5 separate regions of the Homo sapiens genome follow, and regions 1, 2, 3 and 5 are each linked to region 4. Evidence: promoter capture Hi-C in 16 types of primary human blood cells and fetal thymus (Javierre and others, 2016). All regions are on one chromosome and are shown on one strand. Each heading gives the region's core, a stretch centred on a gene start or on the middle of the fragment in contact. The rest is flanking DNA. Distances are from core to core; before and after follow the strand shown. Region 1 holds the start of LIX1L (limb and CNS expressed 1 like). Region 2 has its middle 12 kb from the start of TXNIP. Region 3 has its middle 6.5 kb from the start of TXNIP. Region 4 holds the start of RNF115 (ring finger protein 115). Region 5 holds the start of RNVU1-6 (RNA, variant U1 small nuclear 6).

The links. The method cuts DNA at HindIII sites, captures the fragments that hold promoters and counts their contacts. A CHiCAGO score of 5 or more calls a contact.
Region 1: a contact is called between the fragment with the promoter of LIX1L here and the fragment with the promoter of RNF115 in region 4, in 11 of 17 cell types (fetal thymus, erythroblasts, total CD4 T cells and 8 more). The highest score is 9.0, in fetal thymus.
Region 2: a contact is called between a fragment that was not itself captured here and the fragment with the promoter of RNF115 in region 4, in 9 of 17 cell types (erythroblasts, activated CD4 T cells, naive CD8 T cells and 6 more). The highest score is 9.3, in erythroblasts.
Region 3: a fragment that was not itself captured here is called in contact with the fragment with the promoter of RNF115 in region 4 in 1 of 17 cell types (erythroblasts); the score reaches 6.2 in erythroblasts.
Region 5: a fragment that was not itself captured here is called in contact with the fragment with the promoter of RNF115 in region 4 in 2 of 17 cell types (activated CD4 T cells and naive CD4 T cells); the score reaches 6.8 in activated CD4 T cells.

Annotation. Positions count from the first base shown.
Region 1 is chr1:145,956,669-145,959,421 of GRCh38, forward strand. LIX1L (limb and CNS expressed 1 like) reads right to left here and starts at 1,349. Exons shown (of 6, transcript NM_153713.3): 1 at 968-1,349. The coding sequence starts at 1,259. RefSeq lists silencers at 1,004-1,283, 1,314-1,403. The HindIII fragment of the contact is 5,249 bases long and covers 715-2,753 here.
Region 2 is chr1:146,006,936-146,009,635 of GRCh38, forward strand. No RefSeq gene overlaps it. Among named protein-coding and RNA genes, the nearest start is that of TXNIP, 12 kb to the left of the region's middle. The HindIII fragment of the contact is 1,368 bases long and covers 578-1,945 here.
Region 3 is chr1:145,988,700-145,991,413 of GRCh38, forward strand. No RefSeq gene overlaps it. Among named protein-coding and RNA genes, the nearest start is that of TXNIP, 6.5 kb to the right of the region's middle. The HindIII fragment of the contact is 6,969 bases long and covers 1-2,714 here.
Region 4 is chr1:145,822,675-145,825,374 of GRCh38, forward strand. RNF115 (ring finger protein 115) reads right to left here and starts at 1,421. Exons shown (of 9, transcript NM_014455.4): 1 at 1,098-1,421. The coding sequence starts at 1,199. It overlaps POLR3C (RNA polymerase III subunit C), which reads left to right and starts at 1,526. Exons shown (of 15, transcript NM_006468.8): 1 at 1,526-1,695. RefSeq lists an enhancer at 1,387-1,786. The HindIII fragment of the contact is 15,759 bases long and covers 1-2,700 here.
Region 5 is chr1:146,050,788-146,053,487 of GRCh38, forward strand. It overlaps RNVU1-6 (RNA, variant U1 small nuclear 6), which reads right to left and starts at 1,457; the gene lies at 1,294-1,457. It overlaps LINC01719 (long intergenic non-protein coding RNA 1719), which reads left to right and starts at 1,809. Exons shown (of 3, transcript NR_125968.1): 1 at 1,809-2,161. RefSeq lists enhancers at 667-1,395, 1,396-2,127 and a silencer at 1,307-1,546. The HindIII fragment of the contact is 874 bases long and covers 1,009-1,882 here.

The DNA of each region.
Region 1 (2,753 bases), core at 99-2,598, 130 kb after region 4:
AGCAGACAGAAGGGATGTCTTGTAAATTCCAGGCTTAAATTCTGTATTCCACACCCTTCACTATATATTCCTTATTACTTACACTATAAATCTGGAACTCAAACTCAGACAGGAAACTACCCTAGTTAAACGAAAACAACAAAGAAAACCCTCACATCCCTCTTTCCAGAAATTAACGAAGTTTTCTAACTGAAATAGAGTTTCTAACCTGGCACATTTCCACAGAATTTAACATTGAAAGAGCCAAGGCCTGGGATTTATCCTCAGTTCCTGGGCAAGGGCCAGGAAAACACAGCCAGACAGAAAGGCTGGAGTTGTGAGTCTCCATACTAAAAAAGATACCAAAGTAAGGTACTGAGCCACAGGAAGCTGCTGTGAGTTCAGTGGTACAGGTCCGGATTTAAATACACAATTACTATGAGTGACTTGTGAAGGCACTACCTAGTTCCCCAGTAAATCTGAAGTTGCACTGAAATTTCAGAGTGAAGGTAAGTAAGTAAAGAATTTAACAGTCAAGGTTAAGGGGCTGGAGCAAATTAACAGGTGAGTCCAGGAATTGCAGAGATCACAGAGGAAAGACTGAGAGGGTATGGATGAGAAATTGGATCTGAAATAAAAGACAGGATCCCACACAATGAGGACTGGTTCTCAAAGGCAGAGAGATGTTAAGGTATTAAGCTGGAGGAGGAATTCCATTTCTAAAGGAGAAAAGCTTAGGAAGAAAAGAGGATTGTATCTGAAAAAGAGTCCCTGGAGAATATATTAATAACTCAGTAAAGGGGAGGAGGTAGGAGGCTTAAACGTGTGTATGAGTGTGTGCGTCTGTGCGTGTGCGTAGCCCAGAAGGAAACTCCCCAAAAGGAAATGCATGTGAGGGCTCCACGCCAGGAAAAGCGATCCGGAGGACTGTGGGAGCAAGGCTCCCTTACAGAGGGTGTCGCGCAGGAGGCCAGACCCGCAGACTCACCTCGGCCATAGCCCTGCGTGTGCTTGGCGAAGCTCCTCACCACGGCCTCCACGGCCTCTCGCAGCACTGCCGGGCTGCCGGCGGCGCCGGGGGGCAGGGGTAGTCCTGGGGCCCCAGACAGGAGCAGCGGCGGCGGGGGCGGTGCGGGAGGCGGCGGGGCAGGCGGGGGGCCCGCAGGGGGTGTGGCGGTGGCGGCCGCGGCCCCAGTCACTCCGGGCCGCAGCGCTCGGAGAGTGCCCCTCCCGCTGGTGCCCACACCAGGCTGCAGCCGCTGCGCTCGCATAGTCTCCATCCCGGCCGCCAATGGAGTAGCGCCCCGGAGCCTGCCAGCCTGCCGAGCTAACGGTCCCAACCACCCCAGTCAGCTAGCGCCTGGGGACTCAGGGCGGTGCCAGGGCCGAACCTTCAGTCAAGTGGGGGCGGGGACGAGCTAGGTCCCATGCCAATCACCAGTGATGGGGCGGGAGCTGGAGGGCTCCTGCTCCGCCATAGGCAAATTATTGAGGAGGGTGGGGATTCTCAGAACCAATTGCAAAGAGAAAAAGCGTATCCTCTGAAAGGCAGACGCAGAGCTTCGGCGCGTCTTTGGGAGTCCTGTGGCAAGCACTAGAAAGCAGGACAGAATCTTGGGGCTGGGCTTGAAGAAAAAAATGGGCCTAGATGCAAGATTGGGGAGGATTGCAGACAGAGTAGAGATCATTTTGTCCTACCATTTCATTTCACAGATTGCAGGTGAGGATATTGTGGCTCAGAGAAGTAATTCGACTTGTCCAACATCATATGCAATTGGTGGTGGAGCTAAGGCAAGAAAGATACTGACATTTAATGAACATAAACTATGCAATGTACTGTAGTGCATGTCTTATTTACAATCACAATCACTAACTAGATTTTGTTATTTTAGGGATAAGGAAACAGATGCTGAGGGAAGCTAGAAAAATGGCCAAAATTAAATAGCTAAGAGATGGCAAAGTGGAATTCAGAGTTTAAGCATAGGTGTTCTGATTCCCAATATTTTTATCTTTTTACTATGCCACATTGTTGGGTAAATTTCTGAGTTCACTTATTCTAAGTAGAGGAAGGGAATAAGAGAGAGTGGGATGGGCAAGTCTCTTTGCCTCCCATTAGAGTGAGAAAGAGTTAGGATACATGCAGAAAATTAGCAAACTGAGAAGTCCAGTTGGGGGAATTAAGAAAATTACCCTTGTTGGTATAATATGTCAGACTGGGTTCCTCTGATTACTTTGCACACACACACACACTTGCACACATGCACACACACACACTCTACATACCCTTTATCATGTGGTCACCAGGCCATTTTTGCTTAGGTGAGATTATATTAACTGCTTCCCCCCATCTCTCCTACAGTGGCTCAGAAATCAAAGATGGGGAAATAGAGGCCAGAAGTAGAAGAAAATAGAAGAAACACACTTGGTGAAATGAAAATTAGACCCTGAATAAAAACTGTGAGTAGTCAAGAAATAGGAAGTTTCAAAAGGAGACAGTTAATCTACTGGGATATATCTGCTGATGATGGAGGGAGGAACTCTTTGTAGGAACCTTAAAGAATTCAAGGTTGGACATAGAGGAAACTGGAGGAAATGAAATCCTGTCAAATGCCTTAAAATCTTCAGGACACAGGACACTTGCCTTTTCTCTATAGAAAAGTTGGTTTCTTGGAAAGAAGGTGGCTGGAACAGCTAAGTATCCCTTGGATAATTATAGCTATAAGTTAGTGTTACCCTCCCTCCCCATTCCTCATTCCCCATACCCACACCTCCAG
Region 2 (2,700 bases), core at 12-2,511, 180 kb after region 4:
GTGCACGCCTGTAGTCCCAGCTCCTCGGAAGGCTGAGGTGGGAGGATGGCTTGAATTGCCATGTCAAAAAAAAAAAAAAAAAAAAAATATATATATATATATATATATACACACACACACACACACACACACACACAGACACACACATACATATAGAGATAGATTGATTGAATTGATAGATTGGGTTATGTCTCTGGATAGAATATACCAGTAATTCAGATCCTAGTATTATTTCTTATTACTATTAGACTTGACACCTCAACCTCAGTTTCTTATGCTAAACTGTATCATATTTGTCCCTCCTCAAAGCCTGTGGCCCAAATATGTATCAGAGCAGGGACGGTAAGGAGGCGAGAGGTGGTGGTTTGTTTTTCTGTGAGAAGAAAATTGGACTGCGTTGGTGTTTATAAGTATGAGGGAGATGGGACATTGTGTGCTCAACCCAACTTCCCCTTTTCTGAGAAATTATTTCTTACACAATTCAGAAATACAGTTGACTCAGCTCTGCCACCTAGTGGGCAGTTTAATATACTGTCAAAATTCTTAGTCCAAGAATTGTCTCAAACAAATAAAAGCTTTTCTGAGAGCCAAAACAGCCCAGATCACTCCCCTGAGTGGCAAAGATGATTTTTGATTATGAGAAGGAACAAATGAAGGAAATGTGGTGTTCATGACTGAGGGAAAGAAATTCTACATTAAAACAAGTTTCTATTTTTTTATCCAGACTGACAATTAATAATACTTTCTTTTCTAAGAAAAAATTTTAAAACATTTATTTATTTTTCTAGATCCATCAATGCCTTTTGAAAAAATGAATTAATTTTTTTAAGAGATGGGCCTCTCTCTTGCCCAGGCTGGAGTGCTGTCGTGCGATCAGTTCACTGCAGTCTCTGACTCTTGGGCTCAAGCAACCCTCGGCCTCAGCCTCCTGAGGAACTGGGACTACCACCATGCCTAGTTAATTTTAAGTTTTTTGTAGATATGGGGGTCTTGCTATGTTGCCCAGTCTGGTCTCTAACTCTTGGGCTCTAGTGATCCTCCTACCTCGACCTTCCAAAGTGTTGGGATGACAGGCATGAGCCACTGTGCCAGATCAGTACTTTCTTTTTTTTGAGATGGAGTTTTGCTCTTGTCGTCCAGGCTGGAGTGCAATGGGGCGATCTCGGCTCACCGCAACCTCCACCTCCCAGGTTCAAGCGATTCTCCTGCCTCAGCCTCCCAAGTAGCTGGGATTACAGGCATGCGCCGCCACGCCTGGCTTATTTTGTATTTTTAGTAGAGACAGGGTTTCTCCATGTTGGTCAGGCTGGTCTTGAACTCCTGACCTCGGGTGATCTGCCCACCTTGGCCTCCCAAAGTGCTGGGATTACAGGTGTGAGCCACCATGCCCGGCCAGTACTTTCTTTGTTAATTATATTTTGTCATCTATATATCTATATATATGCATTATAACGCAGTTGCACAAACATTTGATTCTCACCAGGTAAGCAGGAAGACATTTTGCAGAAGAGAATATTGTGATTCAGAGAACTCAAATGACTTGCCTATGATCACACAGCTAGGACAAAATTCCTAGTGAGTCCCTGAGCCTTAAAAAAAAGATTTTTTTTAAGTCCAAGATTGTCCAAGTGTGGTGGCTCACACCTGTAATTCCAGCACTTTGGGAGGCTGAGGCGGGCAGATCACCTGAGGTCAGGAGTTCAAGACCAACCTGGCCAACATGGTGAAACCTCGTCTCAACTGAAAATACAAAAATTAGCCGGGCATGATTGTGGGTGCCTGTAATCCCAGCTACTCGGGAGGCTGAGGCAGGAGAATCACTTGAACCCGGAAGGCAGAGGTTGCAGTGAGCCAAGATTGTGCTACTGCACTCCAGCCTGGGTGATAGAGCAAGACTCTGTCTCAAAAAAAAAAAAAAAAAAAAAGTCATCTCCTTTGTAAAGCTTTCTCTGATTTCTACATTTATTTTTCATTTTTAATTAATTAATTTTTAAATTTTTACCTATTTATTTTTTGAGACAGTATTTCACTCTGTTACCCAGGCTGGAGTGCAGTGGTGCAATCTCAGCTCACTGCAGCCTCGACCTCCTGACCTCCTGGGCTCAAGCAATCCTTCCAACTTAGCCTCCCGAGTAGCTGGGACCACAGGCACACACCACCACTCCCGGCTAATTTTTTGTATTTTTCGTAGAGAAGGGGTTTTGCCATATTGCCCAGGCTGGTCTTGAACTCTTGAGCTGAAGCAATTCGCCCACCTCAGCCTCCCAAAGTGCTGGGATTACACGTATGGGCCACTGCGCCTGGCCTTTAATTTATTTTTAATTCTTTTATTGAGACAGGGTCTTGCTCTGTCACCCAGGTTGGAGTGCAGTAGTGCGATCATAGCTCACTGCAGCCCCAACCTCCTGGGCTCAACTGATCCTCCCACCTCGGCCTCCCAGGTAGCTGGAACTATAGGCACATGCCACAACAGCCAGCTAATTTTTATTTTTTTTGTAGAGACGGGGGTCTCACCATGTTGCCCAGGCTGGTATCAAACTCCCGGGCTCAAGCAGTCCTCCTACCTTGGCCTCCCAAAGTGCTGGGATTACAGGCATGAGACACCGCTCCCAGCCAGCCTACTTTTTTGAAAATATGACTTAGTTTCTCAAAGGTAGAAGTGTTGTATCAAAGACTGACTATGTGAAACGCTTAATATTA
Region 3 (2,714 bases), core at 80-2,579, 170 kb after region 4:
TAAACCTACTGAATAAATGATACTCAGAACCACATCTCCTCTAATCATTGTACATGTAGGTCATAGCTACTTAAAAATTAAAAGGCACGTGAGAAGAGGATAGGCAAAGAAGACCCAGAATATTCCCCCACTTAAGTGGGGAAATAGCTAAGCCACTCCCCAAGGAAGTGTACTGAAGCAAGCCTGTACGCGGAAAATGTCCTCGGGTGAGGTAGAAGTTGTATACACAAGGCAAAAAGAAGTAGAGTGGAGTTTTTGTGCTGTAAGAGAAGGATAGGTTTCCTCTGGGGGAACAGCTCTAGCTGCTTACTCCCTTAGATTTTGATGTGGTATTCAATATGGCAGTCACTAGTCACTAGTCACTAGTCACATATGTGACAGTCACTAGTCACAGAAAGCTAAAGTTTAATTGAATTGAACAAAATTGGGCCGGGCACAGTAATCCCAGCACTTTGGGAGGCTGAGATGGGCAGATCACCTGAGGTCGGGAGTTCAAGACCAGCCTGACCAACATGGAGAAACCCCATCTCTACTAAAAATACAAAATTAGCCAGGTGTGGTAACGCATGCCTGTAATCCCAGCTACTTGGGAGGCTGAGGCAGGAGAATCGCTGAACCCAGGAGGTGGAGGTTGCAGTGAGCCGAGATCACGCCATTGCACTCCAGCCTGGGCAACAAGAGAGAAACTCCATCTCAAAAAATAATAATAATAATAAATAAATAATTAAACAAAATTAAAAATTCAGTTACAGGCTGGGCACAGTGGCTCACACCTGTAATCCTAGCACTTTGGGAGGCTGAGGTGGGAGGATCGCTTGAGCCCAGGAGTTTTGAGACCAGCCTGGGCAACATGGCAAAACTTCATCTCTATGAAAAATACAAAAATTAGTCGGGCTTGGTGCCATGCACCTGTAGTTCCAGCTACTAGGGGGCTGAGATGGGAAATCACTTGACCCTGAGAGGTGGAGGCTGCAGTGAGCAGAGATCATGCCACTGCACTCCAGCCTGGGAGACAGAGCAAGACCCTGTTTAAAAAAAAAAAAAAAATGTGTGCACAGCACTTTGGGAGGCTGAAGTGGGCAGATTGCTTGAGCCTAGGAGTTCAAGACCAGCCTGGGCAACATGGTGAAACCCTGTCTCTACAAAAAATAGAAAAAATTAGCTGGGCATGGTGGCATGTGCCTGTAGTTCTAGCTACTTGGGAGGCTGAGGTGGGAGAATCACCTGAGCTTGGGAGGTCAAAACTGCAGTGAGCCAAGATTGTGCCACTGCACTCCAGCCTGGGAGACAGAATGAGACCCTATCTAAAAAAAAAAAAAAAAAGATAAGAAAAAAAATCAGTTTATCAGTCATAGTAGCCACATTTCAGGGCTAGTGGCTACTGTATTGAAAATTTCCATCATCATAGAAAGTTCTATTTGGACAGCTGGATAAAGGATATTAAGGGTATCCGGAGGAGATGCCCATGTTCTGGCCCTTCCAGGATCAGATCTCTTTTTTTTTTTGGAGACAGTCTTGCTCTGTCGCCCAGGCTGGAGTGCAGTGGTGCAGTCTGGGCTCACTGCAACCTCCACCTCCTGGGTTCAAGTGATTCTCCTTCCTCAGCCTCCCGAGTAGCTGCAATTACAGGCGTAAGCCACCGCGCCTGGCCCTAGGATCAGATCTCTAAGAGGCCTTGGGTATAAAGTTATCTATCCTTTCGAAGCCATCCCTCTTCTCATATTGGGTACTGGTAGCCCAACTGTGCACACAACCAGGCTCATGTACTCCATGGTCTCTCCATTCCTTTGTCCTGCTCTCTGGCCTGCTCTTATCATTGCTTCACCCCTCTAGGCCCTGGAAAACAAGCTACAGAAAAAACTTTTCCATCAACTTTGACCTAATTTCCTGGTCACAGATTTGAAGGAGAGGAGCCACTAAATTCTTGCACAGGTGAGAAAGGGGCGGAGAGTTCAGGTGAAAGTCACCCTGGCAATAGGGAGAAATAGAGACTGACACTTTGGTAATGAAAGAGAGACAAAGAGAGGGAGGAGAGTGCTATGGAAAATGAAAGATAAACGAAAAATGAGGATTGAAATGGAAAAGGATCTTTTAAATCTCACTTTCTGTTAAATTCACATTGATTTTAGTTTGCTTATTATTTATTTATTTTTGAGACAAAATCTGTCCCCCAGGCTGGAGTGCAAGTGGTGCAATCATAGCTCACTGTAACCTAGAACTTCTGGGCTTGAATGATCCTCTTGCCTCAGCCTTGTGAGTAGCTAGAGCTACAACACCCCACACTGATTTCATGTAGAATTTCCAGGAGCCTGTTATTTGGAATTAGTTTGTGGAAGTCCTCAGAAAAATCAATTCCCAAATAAGGACCAGGACCAGATCTGTGCAAATATTTAAATTGGCCATCCCAGGGTTTCTCCACCTGTCGGTTCTTTAGGAATGAAAATCACTGCTGGGCGCCATGGCTCACACCTGTAATCCCAGCACTTTAGGAGGCTGAGGCGGGTGAATCACGGGAAGTCAGGAGTTCGAGACCAGCCTGGCCAACATGGTGAAACCCCGTCTCTACTAAAAATACAAAAATTAGCTGAGTGTGGTGGCTCATGCCTGTAATCCCAACTACTCAAGAGTCTGAGGTAGCAGAATCGCTTGAACCTGGGAGGCGGACATTGTATTAAGCCAAGATTGGGCCACTGCACTCTAGCCTGGGAGACAGA
Region 4 (2,700 bases), core at 171-2,670:
TGGGGGAGCTCCTCGTAGTAGCTACAACCCAACCCAAAACAGTTTCTGGGTTTGTGATGCTGGTGCTGGCTAGTATGCTGCATAAATGTTGTTTGTTTTTGTAGAGAGGGGTCTCACTCTGTTGCCCAGGCTGGTCTCAAACTCCTGGCCTCAAGCAATCCTCCTGCCTCGTCCTCCCAAAGCACTGGGATTACAGACCTAAGCCACCGCGCCTGACCTACAAAAGTGTTTTCTTCCCAACCACAGCACTGCCTCTCAAGGGGCTAACACTCTGGCAGAAACTCGTGAAAACCAATTTCACGTCAGAGGAAGCATCCCCAACATTCTGTCCCGGCTCTTTTTCTTAGGTGAAGAAAGGGACAGGGCGGGGGGCGGAACAATGATATTAAAGACACTGGCAGCATGACAACCAAAATAAACGAAGTTGAAACAGTACGTCCTGCCTTCTTCCTAAAGCCATTTCCTTCAACAGTGATAGGAGTGCAGACCGTCTGCAAGTCATTAGTACGCTGCTGTCTTCACTGTCACAAGGACCCTGGAAACCACTGAAGAGCAAAATCCCCCTTTTCGCCCCACAGATACCTTCCAACCCCCTTTCTGTGCTTCCTTCCCTAGAAAAAACCGAAGAGTGACAATCCTCAGCAATCCGCTATTTCGCTTCACTGACAAGGGAGGTGGCGGGGGCGGTGGGGGGTGAAAAGTGGAAAAGAACACAGAGGAAGGTGAGAAGACACAGTGGAAGAAGTGTGGGGGGAGGTCATCGTAGGAAAAAGACCAGGTATAAAAGAATGCAAGAAAATTGAGGGGAGAGTTATCAGAGGGAAACTTGCTAAGAAAAAAAAAAATTAAGGACACGGGAGGTAAAGAGGTGAGGTCAGGTGGAGCAGCCCAGGATGAATTAAGAGGTGGGCAGGAGGTACGGGGCCGAGGCCGTGATGCCCAGGGTTTAGGGCCGGCGGCTTAGAAGTGGGCAGCAGGTATTCGGCAGACCGATGTCGGGCGAGTCAATGATGTGCAGAAAGCTCCAGACCCAGTTCCGGGAAATCGGGGCCAGGAATCTATGAGGTTCCCAAGTATAGAGAACACAGCGCTCTTACCGGTAGTTTGGGGCTGACCTCGCCCTTGCAAAAGTGGCAGAAAAACCGGTGGGCGGCTACAGCGGCGCCCGAGTCCGCCCCGGCCGCCGAAGCCTCCGCCATTTTTGCCCTCCGCCGCGGCCGTCCGAGAGGGCAGCCGGCCCGTCCCTCGCCAGGCCGCTACCTCCCGAGCTGCAGTCGTCGCCGCCGCCGCCGCCTCGGTGCGGCCCACCGCTTCAGAGCCCGCGTCGGTCACGTGAGTTGGCCAGGCCCAGAAACGCGGCGGCGCCAACAGCTACCCTGCGGCCCGCCTCCCAGCACCAAAGAGGCGCAGGAAGGAGAGACAAACGGCCCGCCCGCCGGCTCCACAAACAGCCCCTCGCTGGTCCTCCAGTCTTCCAGCGAGAAGAAAGAAAGAGCGTCCCCGGAAGCCGCCGAAACTCTGGGGTAGAGTGGCACGCGCTTTTTGCTTTTCCGCGTCTTCTTCGGTGGCGATCCGCGTCCTAGAAAGGGCGGTGGGCTCCACCTCGGCCTAGAAGGCCAGCGGGAGCCGTAGGAAGCCGTCGCGGGAAGCTCAGCCGAATTGGAGTTGGAGCCCCCGGATTGCGCTGACCCTGAGGTTAGTGGAAAATGCTGTCTGAACGTGGCGGCACTGACTGGACCAAGAGACCACGTCCGAAACGGGAACCTGTGTAAAGGAAGTGTAGAGCTAGGAGCCAAGCGCCTTGGAAGCCCTTTCCGAGGATGGCAAAGGATCTGGGAATGCTTCTCCAAAGATATGTGGATGGACGAAATAGGTCTCTGGTGATACTGAGGCGGGGTGGGGACGGGGAGGCAAAGACTTGGCTTCTTAGGAATTGGAAGAAATAAGTAAACAATGTTTGGTAGCAATTTGTAATAAGGAAGTAATCATAAAATTAACTACGTCCGTTTCTGATTGTGTCAACTTTGTCAAGGAGTAGAAGTTTAAGAATTGAATACTGTCCTGCAAACAACGTAACCTCATCTCCTGTTTGACACACCCTGTTGAGAAGCAGTCCTTTACCTCCTAAATTTCTTTTTCGAAATTATCATTTCCTTTATGGACTGAGAATAACACTGCCTGTTCACTCCCACCGAGCTGTGAACAGTGACCTTAATTCTTCCAAGCAGTGAAGTGTAGAAACTAAGGTCTGTGACAGACCGCAAAATCATCTCCCAATCTTTAAGGAAAATCAGAATCACGCATAATCCCATAGAGATAAATTTGATGCATAGTCTTTTCCTATGCATACATTTTTCCTTTTTTTTTACAATAATTGAATTTTTATATTTTTTCAGCTTGCTTCTGTCACTTAATATATTATGAGTAATTTTTTTTGTTTTTTTTTGTTTTGGAGACAGAATCTCGCACTGTCGCCCGGGTTGGAGTGCAGTGGCGCGATCTCGGCTCACTGCAACCTCTGCCTCCCGGCTTCAAGCGATTCTCCTGTCTCAGCCTCCCTAGTAGCTGGGATTACAGGCACCCGCCACCACGCCCAGCTAATTTTTTTGTGTGTTTTTAGTAGAGAAGGGGTTTCACTATATTGGCCAGGCTGGTCTCAAACTCCTGACCTCATGATACGCCCACCTCGGTCTCCCAAAG
Region 5 (2,700 bases), core at 196-2,695, 230 kb after region 4:
GGGTGTTTTGCTTCTTGATCTAACATTAAGGTTAGAAGTTGCAGGATTCCAGCAGGGTTTTGTCACATCCAATCTGGTTTAAGTTCTCATATTATTAGGAAAGCTTTAGGGTGCTTCAGGAAAACGCTTTTTAAAAAATCAAATTTGGAAAATATCAAATGGAATTATAGGCAATAAGCATAACCCAGTGGAACCATGAATCAAACCCTCTAGAGCAGGGTTGTCTAAATTTTGGCTTCCTTGGGCCACACTGGAAAAAAAAAAAAGACACTTGTCTTGGGCCAAACATAATATACACTAATCGCAATTGAACTGTACCTGTAAAGCTTGTAAACAAAATGTGTCTGTAAAGTCTGTAAACAGGCCAGGTGCGGTGGCTCAGGCCTGTAATCCCAACATTTTGGGAGGCCGCGAGGCAGGCGGAAAACTTGAGGTCAGGAGTTCAAGACCAGGGTGGCCAACATGGTGAAACCCTGTCACTCTTTTTTTTTTTTTTTTTTTTTGAGACGGAGTCTCACTCTGTCGCCCAGGCTGGAGTGCAGTGGTGCGATCTCAGCTCACTGCAACCTCTGCCTCCCGGGTTCAAGCGATTCTCTTGCCTCAGCCTCCTGAGTAGCTGGGACTACAGGCACGTGCCACCACACCCGGCTAATTTTTTTTTTTTGTATTTTTATTAGAGATGGGGTTTCACTGTGTTAGCCAGGATGGTCTTGACCTCCTGACCTCATGATCCACCCGCTTCCGCCTCCCAAAGTGCTGGGATTACAGGCGCGAGCCAGTGCGCCCGGCCCGGTGAAACCATGTCTCTACTAAAAATTCAAAAAATTAGCCGGACCTAATTTTTTGGTTGCCTGAGCCTGTAATGCCAGTTACTCGGGAGGCTGAGTATTCTCTGGTTGAGGAAGGAGAATAGCTTGAACGCAGGAGGCAAAGGTTGCAGTAAGGCGAGATCGCGCCATACACTCCAGCGGACTGTTTGCTGTTAATCCCATAGGGAAAAGAAAAGCTTAGTTTTATTTCTATAGAACAACAACAAAAAAAGATAAGAGATTAGTAGAGACGGGTTCACTATATTTGCCCACACACGCCTGAGGTCGAGCGATATTAACATAAACATAACCTATCGACGTACCTCATAGATTGCTGGGATTACAAACGTGAGAACCACGATGTCCCAAATTTTTAGTTTCAGTGAAGTTACAGATGGGAACAAAGACCTGATTCTCAGCTTACGCTGACGCCCAGTATGCGTTTCTGCAGCAAACAAAACCTATTTTTAAAACGACAAAAATACAGGGGAAAGCGCGAATGCAGTCTACCACTGCCACAAATTATACAGTCAAGTTTCCCACATTTGGGGAAACTGCAGGGGTCAGCAGATCCGGAGTGCAATGGATAAGACTCGCTCTGGAAAAACCACCTTCGTGACCAGGGTATCTCTCCTGCCAGGTAAGTATGAGTTATTGCACCTCCGCCCCGCCGGCAGCCTCACACGCTTCACCCTTTACACGCACGGTCACTTGCCCCGCGCACACCCCCCTCCCCCCCAGCCCTCCTAGCCCTGACACACAGCTGGGACTCTCAGGTCCGACCAGCGGTCCTGAACCCGCTCCCACGGCACGGGAACTCCTTCGTGGCGAAGCAGCATGTGGCGAAGCAGCAGCCCCTGCGCTGGCTCATCTACATAGAAGTCGCCCTATCCGTGATGTCACCGACAGCGCCTTTCCCAGTCCCCGTCTGCCTTTCTGCCGCTCAGCCGACCAACCCGCTGCCGGAGCCGGCAAGGGGAAGTGACGTCTGCCTCTCCCTTTTTTCTCTCCTGCTTCCCTCATCTGTTCTCTTCCAAAGAAGCTGGTCCTTAGCCTGTATTGCGGAGCAAGCTTTCGGCGACCAGCTGGACCCTGGGCACCCTTCTTCGAACAATGGCTTTTAATTCTCAGACTAGAACGTTTAGGATTACAAAAGAAACTGGTTCTTTTCACATTCTTATTCTTGTGATGTAGCATTCCGCATATATATATATATATATATATATATATATATATATATGTATCCAACTATCCTAAAAGACACTACCCTTCATCATTCCATGCCATTAGACATGTATAGGACCATGCATGGTGATCTCCTCCAGACAAAAGTAAATGCTGGTGCAGAACAGGTAAGTGTACTATAATTTGAGTACATCAGCTTTTGGGCATTTTAAACCATGGGTCAGACAAGTTAGAGCAAGAGGGCAGGTTGATAGCAAGAGGGAGTGTTTTTCTTTTAATTTTCTTTTTTTTTGTTTTGAGACGGAGTCTCGCGCTCTTCGCTCAGGCTGGAGTGCAGTGGGGCTATCTCGGCTCACTGCAAGCTCCGCCTCCCGGGTTCACGCCATTCTCCTGCCTCAGCCTCCCCAGTAGCTGGGATTACAGGCACCTGCCACCACGTCCGGCTAATTTTTTGTATTTTTAGTAGAGATGGGGTTTCACTCTGTTAGCCAGGATGGTCTCGATCTCCTGACCTTGTGATCCGCCCACCTCGGCCTCCCAAAGTGCTGGGATTACAGGCGTGAGCCACCGCGCCCGGCTTCTTTTAATTTTCAAATAGCAAAGTGATGTTTGCCACTGTCATTTCAGAATGAGGTGACAATTTGTTGTTGTTTGGTTTTGTGGGGTTTTTTGTTTGTTTGTTTGTTTCTGAGACAAGGTCTCACTG